Regions from separate parts of the Homo sapiens genome. Here regions 1 and 2 are each linked to region 3. Evidence: promoter capture Hi-C in human tissues and cell types (Jung and others, 2019). All regions are on one chromosome and are shown on one strand. Each heading gives the region's core, a stretch centred on a gene start or on the middle of the fragment in contact. The rest is flanking DNA. Distances are from core to core; before and after follow the strand shown.

The links. Contacts are between HindIII fragments. The study calls those that stand out against the background at their distance.
Region 1: a fragment that was not itself captured here is called in contact with the fragment with the promoter of POSTN in region 3 in 1 of the 25 tissues and cell types used here (dorsolateral prefrontal cortex).
Region 2: a contact is called between a fragment that was not itself captured here and the fragment with the promoter of POSTN in region 3, in 1 of the 25 tissues and cell types used here (dorsolateral prefrontal cortex).

The regions. Positions count from the first base shown.
Region 1 is chr13:37,156,620-37,160,239 of GRCh38, forward strand. No RefSeq gene overlaps it. Among named protein-coding and RNA genes, the nearest start is that of CSNK1A1L, 53 kb to the left of the region's middle. The HindIII fragment of the contact is 4,524 bases long and covers 1-3,620 here.
Region 2 is chr13:37,288,355-37,291,940 of GRCh38, forward strand. No RefSeq gene overlaps it. Among named protein-coding and RNA genes, the nearest start is that of CSNK1A1L, 180 kb to the left of the region's middle. The HindIII fragment of the contact is 4,884 bases long and covers 1-3,586 here.
Region 3 is chr13:37,597,027-37,600,832 of GRCh38, forward strand. POSTN (periostin) reads right to left here and starts at 1,742. Exons shown (of 23, transcript NM_006475.3): 1 at 1,582-1,742; 2 at 158-256. The coding sequence starts at 1,700. The HindIII fragment of the contact is 6,079 bases long and covers 1,156-3,806 here.

The DNA.
Region 1 (3,620 bases), core at 791-3,290, 440 kb before region 3:
TGATTACTAAATTAGGGCATTCATTCATTAACTTTAGGTATTTAGCATTAAAGCTTCATATTCTGTAAATTGCTAATTCATATCCTCATTTTCTATTGGGCTTTCTTTTTCTTTTTGATTTGCAAAAATTTTTGTATGCTTTAAATATTAATCCCTTGTGGGTTTTAAAAATTGCATTTCTTTTCTTAGTTTGTCATGACCTTTCAGCTTTGTTTAAGCTGGTCACCATTGAACTGAAATCTTTAATTTTGATATAGACTGTTCTATGAAGTTTAAAAAAATATTTCAATTTTATATTATCATTTAAAGTTTTTTTTACAGATGGGGTCTCAATCTCCCACCAGGCTGGAGTATAGCCTTTCATATTTTTATAATAAGCTCCTTTTTTCTTAAGGTGGTCTGAGTGACTCTTAACACTTTTCTTTTTAAAGAATTAATTTTCCCCAGTATCTCTAACAATGGTGCTATGTGGTGCCATCATGGCTCATGGCAGTCTTGAACTACTGGGCAAAAGTGATCCTCCTGCCTCAGCTGCCTGAGTAGCTGGGATTATAGGCAATTTTGTTTTTAATTGTGGTTACTATCACATTACATAAAATTTACCAGCTTAAACATTTTTGAGTATACAGTTCACTAGTTGTAAGTATATTCATTGTCGTGTAACAGATTCCTACACTTTTTCATTTTGTAAAACTGAAACTCTGTGCCCATTAAACACCAATTTCTCCTCTCTAAGCCCTTGGCAGCCACCTTTCTACTTTCTGTTTCTTTGATATTGACTATTTAATTTATTTATTAAATTTTTAATAATTTCAGCTTTAGATATAGGTGGTACATGTGCAGGTTTGTTATCTGGGTATATTGCGTGATGCTGAAGTTCAGGGTATGGTTGGTTCTGCCACCCAGGTACAGAGCACAGTACCAATAGTTAATTTTTCAACCCTTGTGCCCCTCCTTCCCCTCTCTAGTAGTCTGCAATGTCTAATGTTGTCATCTTTATGTCCATGAGCACCCAGTGTTTAGATCCCGCTTATATGTGACCATGCAGCGTTTGGTTTCCTTTCCTGCGTTAATGGCCTCCAGCTGCATTCATGTTTCTGCAGAGGACATGATTTCATTCTTTTTTATGAGTGCATGGTATTCCATGCCGTATACGTATCACATTTTCTTTATCCAATCCGCTGTTGGACAACAAGGTTTATTCCATGTCTTTGCTATTATGAAGAGTGCTGCAATGAACATTCGAGTGCATGTGTCTTTTGGGAAGAATGGTTTATTTTCTTTTGGATATATATACCCAGTAATGGGGTTGCTGGGTCAAATGGTAGTCCTAAGTTTTTTGCTTAGGATTGCTTCATCTATCTGGGCTCTTTTTTGGTTCCATGTGAATTTTAGAATAGTTTTTTTTTTTTTTCTAGTTCTGTGAAAAAGGACATTGATAGTTTGATAGGAATAGCATCAAATCTATAGATTGCTTAGGGCAGTATGGCCATTTTAATGATAGTGATTGTTGCAACATGTAAGCATGAAATATTTTACCATTTGTTTGAGTCATCTATGACATCTTTCAGCAGTGTTTCCTTGTAGAGATCTTTCATCTCCTTGATTAGATGTATTCCTAGGTAGTTTTTTTTTTTGTGGCTATTGTAAATAGGATTGCATTTTTAATTTGGTTCTCAGCTTGAATGTTGTTGGTGTATAGAACTGCTACTGATTTTTGTACATTTATTTTGTATCCTGAAACTATTGAAGTCATTTTTGAGTTCCAGGAGCCTTTTGGCAAAGTCTTTAGGGGTTTTTAGGTATAGAATTATATTGTCAGCACAGAGAGATAGTTTGATTTCTTCTTTTGCTATCTGGATGCCTTTTATTTCTTTCTCAAGAGAAAGAAATAAAAGGCATCCAGATAGGAAAAGAAGAAATATACTATGTTGGTAGTACCTAGTATGTCTACCGCTATGTTGGTTGACATAGTACTATGTCCAGTAGTATGTTGAATAGGAGTGGTGAGACTGGGCATCCTTGTCTTGTTCCAGTTCTCAAGGGAAATGGTTTTAGTTTTTGCCCATTCAGTATGATGTTTGCTGTGGGTTTTTCACAGATGGTTCTTATTATTTTGAGATATGTTCCTTCAATGCCTAGTTTCTTGAGGATTTTATAATGAAGGGATGTTGGATTTTAGCAGAAGCTTTATCTGTGTCCTTTGAAATGATCACTTTTTTTGTTTTTAATTCCGTCTATGTGAAGAATCATATTTATTGATTTGCATATGTTGAACCAATCTTGAATCCCAGGGATAAAGACTGCTTGATTGTGGTGAATTAACTTTTTTATGTGCTGATGGATTTAGTTTGCTAGCATTTTGTTGAGGATTTTTGCATCTATGTTCATCAGGGCTCTTGGCCTGTAGCTTTCTTTTTTTTTATTGTGTCTTTGCCAGGTTTTGGTACCAGGATGATAAGGGTTTTGGTATCAAGATGATGAGGGCTTTGGTATCACAAGGAGTGAGGGAGGCATCTCTCCTCCATGATTTTTTGGAATAGTTTCAGTAGAATTGGTGCTGGCTCTAGGTTGAACATCTGGTAGAATTTGGCTGTGAATACATCTGATCCAGGTTTTTTTTTAGGTGATTATGTTTTTTATTACTGATTTGGTTTTGGAACTCTATATTGGTCTGCTCAGGGTTTCAATTTTTTCCTGATTCAATCTTGGAGATTGTGTATTTACAGGAATTAATCAATTTCCTCTAGATTTTCTAGTTTTTGTGCATAGGGGTGTTCATAATAGTCTATGAGCATCTCTTGTATTTTTGTGGAATCAGTTGTAATGTTGCCTTTGTTGTTTGTGATTGTGCTTATTTGAATCTTCTTTTTCTGTTAATCTAGCAAGTAGTCTATTGATCATGTTTAGCCTTTCAAATAACTTTTGGCTTCATTGATCCTTTGTATGAATTTTTGGGGCTCAGTTTTGTTCACTTCTACTCAGATTTCAGTTATTTCTTTTTTTCCTGTTAGATTTGGACTTTGTTTCTTTTGTTCCTAGTTCCTCTAGGTGTAATTTCAGATTGCTAATTTGAGATCATTCTACATTTTGAGTTAGGAATTTAGTGCTATGAACTTCCCTCTTAATACTGCTTTTGCTGCATTCCATAGATGTTTGTATTTTGTAGTTCTGTTTTCATTTATTTCAAATAATTTTCCTGGTGTCTGCCTTAATTTCATTATTTACCCAAATGTTATTCAGGAGTAAGTTGTTTAATTTCCATATATTTGTGTGGTATGAGAGATATTCTTGGTATTGATTTCTGTTTTTACTCCACTGTATTCTGAGAGTATGGTTGGTATGCTTTCAGTTTTTTGAATTTGTTGATACTTGCTTTATGGCTGAGCATGTGGTCAATCTTAGAGTATATTCTGTGTGCAAATGAGAAGAATGTATATTCTGTGTTTGTTGGATTGGATATTCTGTAGATGTCTATTAGGTCTAATTTGTCAGGTATTGAATTTAAGTCCAAAATTTCTTTGTTAGTTTTCTCCCTTAATGATTTATCTAATGCTGTGAGTAGGGTGTTAAAGTCCCCCACTGTTTTGTGTGGCTGTCTTTTCGAAGGCCTAGAAATA
Region 2 (3,586 bases), core at 66-2,565, 310 kb before region 3:
ACTGCTTCTCTGCGCTATCACTTCACAAAAGAGGGGCTCTGCTTTCTTCCACTTCAGATTTTATGTTGGTTTGCATCCGTAGATTATCTCCACCTGTGTTTAAAATGTCTCATGTGAAATGCCTGCAAGAGAGTGGGATCACTGGGTTATCCTGTATCTGAGCAGTGTAAAGGAAAATTTCTCTAATTTTGGTAACTATCCAAGGTTTGGGTTTGAAGAAGAACATATACAGCATGATTTAAAGGGAAACAAGGACTATTTATTGATATATTGGCCATATAGCTCTTCGTCTTTTAAATTGTTTTTTTAAAAATATGCATTGAGGATTTAAAAATCCTTTAAAACTAGTTTTAGAAGAACTGGTATAATATTAAGTAGATTATTTTAACTTACCTAATAGTATGATTCAAAGTAGCACAAGTTTTTTTTTTTTTGCTTTTCCCACAAAATCCATTTTAAAAAGCTATAATTGTCTTTATATCTATATGCTGATGTTGTGTGCAATATAGTGGAATGAAATGAGTCTGGGTCATACTTAGTTCAAAATATTATTCTACCTCTTCTTTTTTATGACTCCTTGAATAAGTTACTTAACACTCTTGCATCTCAATTTTTCTTCCTGTGATGTGGTTAAGTATTTAATTGTAAAAAAATGCAATCATTTATGAAAGTATTAGCTTAGTGCTTGACACAGTGAGCACTTGATAATAGTTACTTTGAATTGGAATATGGTCTCTATTGCTCCTCTGTCCTTACCTCCATGGATCATCCAACTGGGAGGTAGAAATCTTTTTCACATCACCTTTGTAATTGTAGAGTTGCTAAATAGCCTTATTTACTACAAATTGTTACTTTTAAGAAGCATATTTCTTCTAACCATTTGAAAAAGGAGGAAGAGTAGAATTCAGCAAATATCCAGTATATACTGTGTTCTGGGAGTAAGGAAGACAAATATTTCTTGGTATCCAACTCATGTTGTTAGCAAGTAAGTGCCTGGAGCACGGTAGGTTGTTTTGTAGTCTGTTACATGATAGGCCCTGTGCCAGGCTCTTTGCACATTGCTGGCGGTGGAGAGAAAGGTCCTATCCACAGAGTTTGTCTTTCCATGTGGAAGGAATTCCACAAGTATAAGACTCTTGGTGGCTTATCCAACTCTCTCCTTCAGTGCTCCCAAGATTACTCGTGAGTTTGGAAAGAGGAATTTTGCATATGTAGCCTAATTCTTTTTATCTCATCAGTGTCAGCCTGCAGAGAGAACATATTCATCTATGACCTTCCTTCTATTCCAGTGGAGAGATCTACAGCCTTCAGTATTGCCTGTGACTGGAGTAACTCTGTTTAATTTGAGGATCCAGTATTAGAAAGCTCGTGATTACTGAACACTGAAGCCACATTCATGAATCCATCAGTAATAAAAGCTATCTTTGTTTTCCTTCTGCCTAACCCTGCTTTAATCTCGCAAACATTTCTAAAGTTAGGAGGGAAAAGGATGTTTTCACTTATTAGCTTTAAAAAATCCTATTATACATTTAACCCACATATCTGCTGACTTGTTCGCCTCTATCTGCATAACAGCAGGATCTCAATACCTCCCAGTTATTTCCATATATTTCCAGAATGATGTCTCAAAATGTCCACACTCTAGATGTGGTTGTCCTTTGGGCCCAGACTTTTTCTTCTTATGTTTTAGCTCCCAAGTGCATAGAACTGCTACCTGAGAAGGTTCATTACTGTCATTGCACATCATGGTTTACTAATTTACTTTAAGATAAATGTCTCCCCCCAAAATACTTTGCATCAAGCTATAGCCCTTGAGTTGCCAAAATGTTGTAGGGTTTCATGGATGGCCTTTTCCCAATACTATCCCTCAATTTAAAATAAAATTAAAGGCCCAGAGAACCTCTTCTTGGGCTCAATGTCTTACAGAATCTTTCATGGAGAAGAGTTTAGTAATTTTTGACCTCATCCCACTAATTATACGGGCTGAAACATAGAACTGTAGTTCTGTTTGGAACAGACATGATAGCATCCCTACCATTTATCTCTTCTCAGAGTATAAAACTCCAGTCACAAAGTCCCTTTTCTTATTCTTTTTGCAAAACACAAGCTCCTATGTATATCACTTGCTGCAAATGGTTATCTTGGATATAGGTGTCAGAATGAGGGTTGATGGATGGTGGCCTGGTGATGAGCCCTGACTTAATCTGCCTTAGACCATAGATTGTGTACCTTTTGTTTTACTTCTTTTCAGTGTTACTCTAAACACCCTTGGGTGTTTACTACTATTATAGAAGACAGGTTGTATAGGTATCTCCATAATCTGATATATATTTATCTTCATGAATAGAGAGGCATGGTATGTGAATAATTGGACTTTATGTATTCACCATTGCTTAGCCAAGTGCATTTCCATGAAAATTATCCTGTGGAAATGACAATATTCATTTCATTAAGAGGTGGTTGGTTAGAGAGTCACAAAACATATTTTTGTTCTCCTAGTTATGTGCAGGTGTTTGGAGGCAACTCAAACCTCAGACTTTGTGGACCAAAATGAATCAGAGACCTGAAATTGACTCCTCTTTTCCACTTTGGCTGACTTCCTTTAGTTCATGAAATTAATCTCTGAGTCTGAGAACTCATTTTAAGGTCGACTATGTGTACAGATGAGGATAAGAATAAGAGATGTAGGTAGAGCAATGAAGAGGTAACACGACATAAGCATTTAGAAAGCAGTGTTTAATCCTTGACTTTCCACTAAAATGGCCATTAAAAATTAATCCTACCCCAACTCCGGCTACATACAAATAAAGTAATTTTCAAGGAAAATAAAAAACACAAGAGAAAAATCTCATCCTAAAGTGTGTTTACATTTTCCAAGAGATTTCAAAATGGCAACAATAATTCATTTTCAATTGTTTCCACATTTTGCATTGAAAATATGTTGGCTATGAAAATTACTAGAAAACAAATACAGAAATGTGTTCTTTACCATTGATATAGATGCGTCGTCATGAATCTAATATCTATTTAGCCTTCTTCCTTTCATTTTGGCGGGGGCTGAAATTTCAGCAGGGACAGTGAAAAGCCCATGGAAATAAAAATTAGAATGTCTCCAGAAAGAAAGAGGAAGTAAAAGGCAAGTACTAACTGGTAAATATCATTTGAGGTGATTTCAGATAAGGCCATAACCCAGGTTAAAAATATATCAAAACACAATTGTCATTATTATAACATAAACTAATAAATATTAATTAGATCCCTATTTTGGGCGAAGTACTGTGTTGAGCACTATGGTAGATACAAAGATGTTAAAATGGACTCAATGTGTGTAAGAGGATTACAGTCTAGAACAGGTAGTTGTATATATGCTATTGAATACAGCTATGCATGTAAGATGTAGTCTATTATAGTACAGATGTATAAGTTATTTCAAAGTAGCACATTAATAATTGACAAATAAATAGTAAAACTAGTAAGTGCTTAAGAGGAGAAGTAAGGCAGAAAGACACCACTGCCTTCTGGGGTGAGTTTAATTCTAGCATCAGCCAACATTTATTCAACCCTTACTATGGGCCAGGCAATGTTC
Region 3 (3,806 bases), core at 492-2,991:
TCTTTATTCACGTATGTATTCCTTTCTTTTCTTTAAATAACTCTCACAATTTTGGTCAGTATTTTCAAGAAGAATGGTGTGTACACCCAGGGGAAGGCATATACATCATGATGTTGTTTTTGGAACTGACATATTATGAAAAAAAAAAGAGACTTACGTTTTCTGTCCACAGATGGACTTTTTATACCAGTTCTTACAAGTGCTGAAGTATTTCTTTTTGGTGCCCAAAATCTGTTGAAGGGCACAGACATTTGGGCTGGAGGATAGAGGGAAAGGAAAAAAGTTAATGTCCTAATAATGACTAGTTTTTCGTATCTAAAGATTGGTTGATAGAAGAAAATGTTGAGATGTGGATTTGATATCCAAAGACATGATTCTAGCCTTGCACAAATCTAATTATTGACACAATCCTACTGAATTGTTGAAAAACCGAAAGTCTACAGGAGGTGGCAGGGAGAGAGAGAAAAATTATACATTTCTGAGAGTAAAATACAAGCTTTTCAAAAAGTTAACCAACTAGGACTATTCAAACAGTATGAACGTAATTTTATTTCTATGTGCCTTATTACTTTTAATGGTAGATAATCTACTGACCCTTTTTAAACCAAGCATGTGCTCATTTGGAGGATGGCCATAACTTCAGGGCTCTCTGGAACAATGAGAGGTCAGAGAGCAAAAGAGACAAGGTTTATTATGTACACAGACACTATACTCTGTAATTTTCTAGGTAAGTAATCACAGAAGTAAATGTGCTAAAATTAACTTTGAAACAATATGGTTGCACAAAGGAGAATTTATCTTTTTGAATGGAAGTAACAGATCAGAACATCCTCTGTCACAATTTTAAGGTTCCCCTTCCCCTCTTAAAGGGACAGAAGTCTTTTTTCACTGTAAGTCAAAGAAGCTTGTGAACATTATGAAAATTCCTGTGAGGCATAGGAAGAAGTGCCAAGATCCGCTTAAAAAATTATAAATGGTTGGATAAGTTACAAAATTATGTGTAATTTTAAAAATGCTTAGTTGTAGTTGCATTAGTTCTATAAAATATAAATTACCTTTGCAAATTTTACAGAATTCAGAGTTTAAAAGTAACTTAAATGCTTCAAAGAATTCAGAGAACTAGTTACATTACCCAGTATTTAACCTTCATATGTAATTTAAATAAAATTTTCTCTAACATCATGTGAGATATTTCAATGCTGTTTGCATACATATGATAGTTCCTAACAATAGATTTTTTAATTTTGAAAACTCAATTTCAGATTTTTGGAAGAAAATAAAAACATAAATAAATGGAATTATAAAAGAATGCCCAGCTAAATTGTGTTAATTAGATTAGAATTATATAACATTTCATAAGAAAGCAATTATATTCAAGGTATTTAGAGAGCAATTAAGTCTTAAAGCTTAAAAGTGCATAGATAAATCACAGAATACTCACATTTTCCTTTTTTTCCTATTACTTTATAATAATTAGGAAAAAAAACCCTGAGGCATATATGAGAAACTTTATGCATACTTGAACATCTAACAAGCTGAGGAAAAAGAAAAATGGTTTATAAAACCAAACCACTCACTTACCCTTGGTCCCGACCCCTGATACGACTATGAGCCAAGATCTTGTCATAATGATTGTTGGCGTTTATAGGGTTAACAATAAGCAGCAATAGTAGAGAAAACATGGGTAAAAAGGGAATCATCTTGAGTCTCTCCGTTGCAGTTAGTCCCCGAAGAGAACTGGCAGTGGGCTTTGGAGAGCTCAGAATTTATATACATGTCAGAGTTGTGGGAGGGAACACTGCATCAACCTGAGAGTCTGAACTCTTTCCAGGAAGCATCGGCAACTTCAAATTGCCAGCTAAGATTTGTTTTGGTTAGTTATATTTAAGGAACACATTGAGCTACTTTTCCTTTTCATTATAAAGAAGGTACTTATTTTTAATCATATGAACAATTGACTCACTGCATGTTTAAGTCTCAGTTTTATTCCTTTGTATCTTAGAGGGTTTTTAAGAAAAATTCTTTTGTTGAGTTTTAAGAGATATTCTGCAATCCTTTCCAGAGTAGAATGTATAATGTCTGTGTGCTCAAGATTATTGTTAGGTGTTATTGCAGTTCACATCAGAACTGAAAGATTATTATTATTATTATTTTTACCAGAAAACAAAGGTAGATGCGAGTCTGACAATCACAAGGGGGTAAAGGCTGTTGATTAAAAACAAACTCTGGATAGATTTAAAACTTGTGTAAGATATGAAATAAGAATTCTAACTTGCTGAAGAACCATGTAGGAGAGTCCATATTTTCCTTGCTATCGTACAAAAAGGAGAGCTACCTCTCATTTCCTTTCTTTTTCAAATATCAAGGAACATATAGAGTTAACATAAATCTACTCTGACAAATTTCTCTAAGGTTTGAAATGAAGCAGAAAGGAAAAACATTTGTGCTTTATTGTTTTTCATGACACACTTTATGTGATGTTGAACATGTCTATGCAGCACATCTACTGATAACCACTGGTGAAAAGCAGCCAATATTGGAAGCAAGTGTTACGAATCTAGAGATAACTAGAACAATTAAATACATATTAGGAAACATGGACATTGCCAAAATGATTCTTCTGATTTTATCAAGAATAACTAAAGCCTTTCAATGTTACACTATGCAATCCCTAGCCAAAGGAATGTGCGTTCTTACTACTCCATGCATATGTCAAATGTTCAGAAAACTTTGGATAAAAGAAATCTGAATATCAGAGGGAAACAATGAGCTGAAATGGTAACCACAATCAGCTTCCTTGAATAAACAAGCTGCACACCATCCTAAAGTGTAATTCCAATCCATTTTGCTACAAGATGCTCCCTCTGTAATGTCATATCCATGTTCTTTTCCCACTGGTGAGGTAGAGAGATTTTGTCAGAATTCTCCTTGTTGTTCTATTGGGAAGGCTTTAGGGGAACTGGACTGAACTAGAGAGGATTCTGAGTATCCTGAGTTATGCTTAAACTCACTATGGGATATTAAAATATTCTACAACTTGCTGCTTAGTTTATTAAGAAAGCACACAGTGAAACCACAAATGCTGAAATATGATCGAGAGGCCATTTCAATATGAAAATCTTGGGATTAAGTTATAGAAAATGAAGGGGCAATTCAAAAGAAGAGCTGGAGAGGAGATAGCATAAAAGTTAAATTATATTCTGACCCTGGTCCTTTGTGGAAGGAAGAGTTTAGTCTATCATTTACATTTCTCTGAATGGAATCATTCTGACTTTATGAAGTCATCTTTTGCTTTATATTATAGCTTTCTATTACTCTTATGTTGTGCAAATGGCAGGTGGTCAGTAACTGCTTATTGATTAGGACGGATAAACTATCAATATTATTAAATTAGCTGTTAGGACATTCCTGGTTAAATGGATATATAAAAGTCTTCAACTCTAGACCAGTTAGACATTATAATATAGATTACACTGCTACTAATGCCACACTTTTCATCTTTAGACTGATGTAACTACTTACAGACCTTTTTGTAATGAAGCTGATATCTGCTCAAATCCAATAGGGTTTGACTGGAGGTGAAGGATGAGGTACTCAGAGAAAGAGATATAGACTTGTGTAATAAGTATCAAGGGTAAAAAAATATATATTTTTAAATACAGTCCGGAATGATAACTGATAGACCTGATTGTGAATACAAGGAGTGAAGGAAGAATCAAAATTTCCTGCCATGTTGCCTGCTTTCTTAATATTGCCTGGAACGAATTAAAATTTTATTGATTATTTTCAAGAACAATTTTAACCTA